Linked DNA regions of Homo sapiens: region 2 is linked to region 1. The links are contacts of gene promoters, found by promoter capture Hi-C in blood cells and fetal thymus (Javierre and others, 2016). All regions are on one chromosome and are shown on one strand. The core of a region is centred on a gene start or on the middle of the fragment in contact, and the rest is flanking DNA. Distances in the headings are between cores, read along the strand shown.

Evidence for each region. Contacts are between HindIII fragments. The CHiCAGO score rates a contact against its expected background, and 5 or more counts as called.
Region 2: a contact is called between a fragment that was not itself captured here and the fragment with the promoter of NDUFS4 in region 1, in 2 of 17 cell types (naive B cells and M0 macrophages). The highest score is 5.2, in naive B cells.

What each region holds. Positions count from the first base shown.
Region 1 is chr5:53,558,978-53,562,970 of GRCh38, forward strand. NDUFS4 (NADH:ubiquinone oxidoreductase subunit S4) reads left to right here and starts at 1,662. Exons shown (of 5, transcript NM_002495.4): 1 at 1,662-1,783. The coding sequence starts at 1,686. RefSeq lists an enhancer at 1,564-2,063. The HindIII fragment of the contact is 3,063 bases long and covers 1-1,810 here.
Region 2 is chr5:54,135,346-54,139,338 of GRCh38, forward strand. The region is part of intron 3 of ARL15 (ARF like GTPase 15); the gene reads right to left. Among named protein-coding and RNA genes, the nearest start is that of ARL15, 170 kb to the right of the region's middle. The HindIII fragment of the contact is 1,711 bases long and covers 784-2,494 here.

The DNA.
Region 1 (3,993 bases), core at 412-2,911:
ACATGACCTGGCAATTGCACTCCTGGGCATTTATCTCAGAGAAATGAAGATTTTTGTCCACATAAAAACCTGTATTCAATTGTTTGCAGCAGTTTTATTTGTAATGGCCCCAAATGGGAAACAATCAAAATGTTCTGCAATAGGTGAATGGTTAAACAAATTGTGGTACATCCATGTCATGGAATATTACTCAGCAATAAAAAAGGAATGAACTATTGATAAACACAACAACTTGGATGGGTCTCAAGTGCATTATGCCAAGTGAAAGAAGCCAATCTTAGAAGGTCATGTACTGCATGAGTCCATTCATATAACATCTCAAAATGTCAAAATTATAAAAACAGAAACAGAGATCACTAGGGTTAGGAGGGCAGGTGTTACCAAAAAGGTTAGCACTAGGGAGATCTTTGTGAGGGTGGAATAGTTCTGTATCTTGATCATGGTGGTGGTTACACAAAATATGTAGTAGAATGACATAGGACTACACAAATACTTTATATCAATGCCAGTTTCCTGGCTTTGATACTGTACTAGAGTTATACGAGATGTAATCACTGGGGGAAACAGGTACACAAGACATCTGTACTATCTTTGCAACTTCATGTGAATCTATAACTATTTCAAAATGAAAAGTTTGAAAGAAAATTTTCTCTGAGGCATCTCTCCCTTGCCTTCCTTCATCTTGTGCATTTCTTTCCCTGAGTATGACTTTTTCTCTTTCTTTCTCCCTTTCCCTTATGTACTGGGTTTTCCTTTAACGGTCCATAATGCCAAACTATGTCATTCCCCATCCTCCTATTGTTCCTATTTATTTAATGAAGGTTATGTTTTCATGTGCTTAATTTTAAAAGCAGGAAAGTACTAACTCTTTAAACAAATTTCTTAAAAAACAAAACCCAAAACTAACCTGCTTTTTATTTTATATAATTCAGTTAGTCATTATTCTTTAAGGTCGGAAGTCCACAATACAAACATGTTTCCAACACTTGTATTGGAAGATAATTTTTGTTTTATATGCATGGAGCATTAATATCATTCTTCATGTCTATGGATTATGAACACACACACATTCAGGATTTACTGGGGAAACAGTGACATCAAATATTATGTTCTATTGATTCTTCATATAAATCTACATGTCAAAAAATAATCCTTTGCCAGATCACGTATCCAGATTTTTCGTTTGGAAAATACGAACATTACTACTACAGAATATCAAACTGAATACAGCCCTGTCCTGAGGGCTTGCAAAGTGAATCTGGCAATACTTTGGAAAAGTACTACTGCAGGTTCTCAAGGACCCAAAGAGCTCTCCAGCTTTTCCAGTGGGTTCAGCCCCAAATATCCTAATTTCTTCAATAAATTACGAGTTGCAGGTGTTTAAATATGCAAGTATATTTTGGTCTTTTCGTTATCATTGTAAAACACCAGTCCTAACAAGCAGTAAAGATTACACTTTATGGTGGTAATATTTACAGTTAATGCACTTCTGCATTTCTTCCCGCACATTTTTCTTCTTACTTATTTAAACTAAGCGTTTCCCCTCTTTTTTTAAGCCCCAGTATTAAAAAGAAAATAAAATCCCAAAGAATTTCGCAACATTGCGATTGCACTGGCTTGAGAACGAAGGAAGTTAGTCCCTTGCGGTGATCCGTCCTTTCATCCTGGCGTTTGCCTGCAGCAAGATGGCGGCGGTGTCAATGTCAGTGGTACTGAGGCAGACGTTGTGGCGGAGAAGGGCAGTGGCTGTAGCTGCCCTTTCCGTTTCCAGGGTTCCGACCAGGTAATAGAATTTTCACACTTTTCTTCAAGCTTCTTGGGTCCCTCCATTTTTGCGGAGTCTCTGCTGGCTGAGTTCCGGAGGAGGCCTCGGGGAAGGCGTCCTCTGTTGACCCTTTTCTCGGGAGAAGTCGGGCGGACTAGGGACTGTCTGCTATCAATGGGCGTTGGCCAGGCGAGTGAGGGCGTGAGTGCGAGGCCGGGGAGGAGGACCTGTGGTTTTCTGGAAGCTTTCGTATTCGGCTTGTCGCTGAGGGAGAGGGTCCGTGGAGGTTTTGCCTCCGGAGCTGCAAGCTGAACCTTAGCCCTCAGAGAAGGGGAGGAGTCTCACTGATTTCTGTTTCCACTTTCTGCATCCCTTCCATTTGTCACCTGTTTGCCCACCACTCCAGTCCTTACAGAAGGGTTAAATCACTGTATCCCTTCCATGGTTTTAAGTGGTTTTAATTTGGTTTCTGCATAGGAAGATTGTTTATTCATCAGTCTGCTTGGGAGGAAAACTTGTTTGGAATTCAGTGTTAGTAAAAATATCACTGCTAGTAATATTGGAAGGTAATTTTTAAAAGGCTGGTGGTAATGCCTGGAGGTTTTCTAGGGATTTTGTTAAAGCCTCACAATAATTCAGGGATTGAATTGAGTTGTTGAGGGCTCTTTGCGTCCTTGAGAACCTAAAGTAGTACTTTTCCAAAGTATTGTCAGATTCAGTTGTCAGTTGATTGAGTTGTTACTGTTTTTCCTTGAAGCATTTTTGTGATGATTTTTTTTTTTTTGGCTGTATTAACCTTCCATTTTCTATTTTTCAGAATTTCCTGGAGTTTTTTAAATTATAGTACTAATGCTATACGTACATACACACACATATTAGAACAAAGATTGGAAAGACTGGATGGAGAGATTTGAAGGGGGTAGGAGGTGGATGCAAGTGGTTAAAAGTTGAAAGGAAGGTCTAGTAGAATGCTAATTGATTTAGTGTTAAATATAAATGGAATGCAGAGAATTAGGATGAGTTAATTCGGAAGAATTTTTAAGGATGAGTTTTATTAAGGTTTAAATATAGTGGGTGTTGGGTGGGAAAGAAGAGAGTGTCCCGTAGGGTCCGTGGCTTATGAAAAGGCTTGAAAGCATTAGTTAAACGATTACTAAATACATAGAATAGAGTCACTCAAAAGTAAGGGTGCTAAGATTGGGGAAAGGCAAATGATGTTTGTAATTAAGTGTTCCATATATGGAAAGTATTTTTCCTTTTTCTTTCTCTTTTTTTTTTTGAGATACATTCTCACTCTGACGCCCAGGCTGTAGTGCAATGGCGTGATCTTGGTTCACTGCAACCTCCGCCTCCCGGGTTCAAGCAGTTCTCCTGCCGCAGCCTCCTGACTAGCTGGGATTACAGGCGCGCACCACCACACCTGGCTAATTTTTGTATTTTTAGTAGAGGCGGGGTTTCACCATGTTGGTCAGGCTGGGTTAAGTATTTTTCTAAGGTAAAATACTTCACTGGTTAACTTAGAGTTAATATAGCGGTGACCAAGATTAGCCCTTCCTCCCGTACAGATTATAGGGATTAATTGTCATTCCCAGATAATAATGTACTCATGGTAGCCCCAGAACTGAAAACAAGTTTGAAGGGACCACTGGTTTATGGCTAATCAAAACATGGCTGTAATTTTAAGTCAAAGCCATTTTGTCAGCAATTATAGTAATTGAAGTTGAGATTAGATTTTTGAAACTCTGATGATAATTGTTACTACATATCCAAACTTAAGAGTTTTTGCCTGCAAATGTAAGAGATTTGAAAATAAATCATTTAATCTTGAAAAAAAATCTTAATGCCAGGGAAGACGTTTTTTAAATACAAATTAACACATTTATTTGTTTTCTGTGCCACATTTTTACCCTAAGAGCTTGTCATGTTCATCCTAATTTGAGGGAAATTTATAGACCCTCTCCCTTACATATTGTTTGTTCTTCATCCTTAAGCATTCTTTTTCCATTATGATTTGATAGTAATGAGGATCTGAAAAAGGTGAGTAGAAAGAACCAATTAATGGGAAAATCTACATCTAAAATTCATTTTATTGTAATGCTTAGAAAAACATTTGCAAATCATGTAACATTTCAGATCATTTGAATAGAATATGGGAAGTGGAATCAGTAAGGTAAGGAGTGGAGTAGGGAACTGAAGGAAAGGAAGGGCCGGGCGCGGTGGCTCACACC
Region 2 (3,993 bases), core at 389-2,888, 580 kb after region 1:
GCACATATTTTACAAGGGACCCCACAATTTAATACTTCTCCAGGAGACAAGGAGGATCGTGATAGACCTGGAGACCACATCATAGGAAAAATAGTTGAAGAAATGGAAGATAATTAGATTGAAAAGTGATCCTTCAGAATACATGACACCTAAATTCATGTTTCCCAATTACTATCTAGGGGAGCTGTACTATTTGTTAGTGTGGCTCCACAAGGCAGAGCTAAGATTATTTTAACAAAGAAACAGAGAGTTGCATTTTAGTAAATTATAATGAATGATAATAATGAAAACTCTTCAAACATGGCATATATACATACTTTCTGAGACTGACTTCCTCACCATGCAAGTACTCAGTTTGGGACTGTTCAGTTCAGTCACATGCCAGAGATTTGAAAACAGCAAATTCCTATTTGGTGTAACAGGTTTGAGCAAGAAATGTCTGATTTAACAAATATGGTTTCATATTCTTTTATGAGATAAAAACTGCTGGAAGGTAGAATGCTATTATAAGACTCATTTCTGAAGGAGACTGCATACCCAACTTTCCTGACACTGCTTCTGAGAAGGACAGGTTAGACCACTGCCCACTGCAGCAAATGCACCCATAGCCCACTCTGAGTTCCAGAGTGATGGTAGAAAATCTGGAAAACACTGCCTTGTCTCATGTGGGGCAGAGTTTCAAGACAGCAGAAGGCAAGGGAGATCAGAAACATCACCTTGTTATTCAGGTAAACTGTAAAAGTATATAAAAATATATAAGCCATCAAGAACAATGAATTTATAAGCTTTATTCCCACTCTCTTTGTATACTGACTCCCAGATTCATTGACTCATTTAGTACAATTTTATCAGCAAAAAAAATTTTAAAAATGACTACTTAACTAATGGATAATGTATATTTAATATGCGATTTTCTAATCATCCTTCAAATACCTTCAATAGCCAGCTACATCATGAGAGATATATCTGCATGTTTAAGATTAATTCAAATTATAAGGAGAATTCAAAAGTGAATTAAAATGTGACTTACAGCCAGTAAAATACAAGCAAGTCAATTTTTCAATGCATCTTGACTAAATGTAAAATATCATCTGTTTTTGTGACAAACAAGTCTGTATCATTAATCATATGCTTCCAGCTGCAACAGCTCGCATTCAAATTAAAACCATGAAATAGCATCACAGTGTCAAGATTCACGCAAACTGATCTTTTAACAGATTGTGAGGGAAAAAAAAACATACATTAAAAGAAGAATCTGGAGAAAATGTTACACAATAAAAACATCTGAAAGAGCTTAAGCACACAAGATAGAATTCTGGTTTTTGAACTGTATTGGAATTAAATGTTAAACAAAACTCACAGCCTGCTCTTAAACAACGAACACATCATAAAAAATAATTCTTTTTATAGCCACAGGGCTGAGAGTTTTGCTGTTTATATCTATCCCAGCATACAAATCCATAGTACTGCCAGGACTGTCCCCTCTGACTTTACTGGGAAGCTAGACAGGACAGTCTGCCTGGGTTTTTTTTTTTTTTTTAGTTTAGTTCAGTTTGTGTCCAAAACTGGCCCAAGAATCATCTCTTCTTCAGTCACTACACTCTTGCCTGCCAGTTGCACAGCTCCAAACATTCTCCTTCCAGCTACAGATATTAAAATGTTTTGTTGTTTTAAAATTTGATTTAGAACTGCAGTAGATAACCTTTTTTTTTTTTTTGCTTCAGGCTCCCCTAGGTCAGCAAGGCATAGTAATGTTCAAACAGTGCAACAGCAGCCACTCATTGCACATTAAAAACAAGGATGGTGCCAGGAACCAGCAAAGTGATATATTCTAGGTTAGCCATGTCAGGCATTTTCCAGTCCCAAAGCAGGTTTCATATGGTCAGCACATGGGCCAAATGATGCACATGGCCGTCCTGCACTTGCCCCTTGTGTCCTCCTCTGGTGACCTGCCCCATTGAACTCCCTGGACGAGATTCCCAGCGATGCTATGCAAAGAGGACATGTTCCTCTGAGAGTATTTTCTGCATTAGGGCTCACATTGTATTGCCATGGGACTTTACACTTTTAGGGTATAACCTGACATGCCACAACCTTTTCTTCCACTCCTCAGTTGACACCTCTTTAAACTGGTGGCCCAGCCCTAGCCTAGTACACATAAAAACGATAATAGCCACTCTGCCAATCAAGGTTAATATTTCAGCTTCTCTAATAAACCTGGGGTAGACACCATGATACAATATATAAAAACAAGAAAAGTAAAAATTCAGAACTTTATCTCAAAATTGTGCAGGCTCTTACCTACTAGATTTCCTTATCTTGTAACCATCATTTCTTTGTTCTTTTGTTCCTTGTTCACAGAGATATTGTTCCAGATGATAAATGGAGGAGTATGTAAGATTTTAATTTCATCACAGCCTATAAAGAATATTCCCAATGAAATTTAATGTGAATTTTAAATTGTATATTATAGTTGGGCATGGTGGATTTCAGAAGCTTTGAATCCCGTAACATGGATTTTAAGAGAGAAAGCTTTTTTTTTTTTTAAAGGAAAGTAGGATGAGGAAATAATATGAGGAGAACATGCAGTGACTAATCACTTACAAAAGAGAATTTTAGAGTCAAAGTATGCCTTAGAAATGGTCTGGAAAATACGCAGCCAAATCAAATAACTTAATATGTATTGAGACTTCAATGTTTACAGAAAATTTGAAACCTTTTATAAAACCACTAATTCTTTTGTAATGCTACAAATTACTTAATAAGAGTTACTAATGTATAAATCTCTATTATTATATTTAGGATTTTCTTCCAGAAGAGTACCACCACACATCTTAAAATAGGAGGATCTCGATCCAGGTACAGTGGCTCATGCCTGTCCCAACATTTCGGGAGGCCAAGGTGGGAGAATCACTTGAGGCCAGGAGTTCGAGGCCAGCCTAGGCAACATAGTGAGACCCCATCTCTAAAAAAATAAAAATAAAAATTACCAATGGAACAGGATAGAGAATGCAGAAATAAAGCTAAACGCAACCAACTGACCTTTGGCAAAGCACACAAAAATATAAATTGAGAAAAGGACATCTTATTTAATAAACGGTGCTGGAAAACAAGATGACCAGATGTAGAAGAACAAAACTGGATCCCTACCTCTCCACTTACACAAAAATCAACCCAAGATGGATCCAGACATAAATCTAAGACCAGAATCTGTAAGAATTCTAGAAGAAAACCTAGGAAAAACACTTCTGGACATTGGTCTAGGCAAAGGATTTATGACTAAGACCCCAAAAGCAAATGCAACAAAAACAAAAATAAATAAATAAATGGGACCTAATTAAACTAAAAAGCTTCTGCACAGCCGAAGAAATAATCATCAGAGTAAACAGCCCACAGAATGGGAGAAAAAATCTGCAAACTATGCATCCAACAAAGGACTAATATCCAGAATCTACAAGGAACTCAAACAAATCAGCAAGAAAAAAACAATCCTATCAAAAAATAGGCAAATGACATGAATAGATATTCCTCAAAAGAAGATATACAAATGGTCAACAAACATGTGAAAAAATGCCCAATATCAGTAATCATCAGGGAAATGCAAATTAAACTCATAAGATATCACCTTACCCCAGCAAGAATGGCCATTATTAAAAAGTCAAGAAAAATAGATGTTGGTGTAGATATGGTGAAAAAGGAATGCTTATACACCGCTGGTGGGAATGTAAATTAGTACAACCTCTATGGAAAACAGTATGGTGATTTCTCAAAGAACTAAAGGTATATCTACCATTCGATCCAGCAGTCCCACTACTAGGTATCTACCTAAAAGAAAAGAAGTCATTGTATCAGGAAGACACCTGTACACACATGTTTATCACAGCACAATCCACAACTGCAAAGATATGGAACCAACATAAGTGCCCATCAATCAATGAGTAGATAAAGAAAATGTGGTACATACATACATGGAATACCACTCAGCCATTAAAA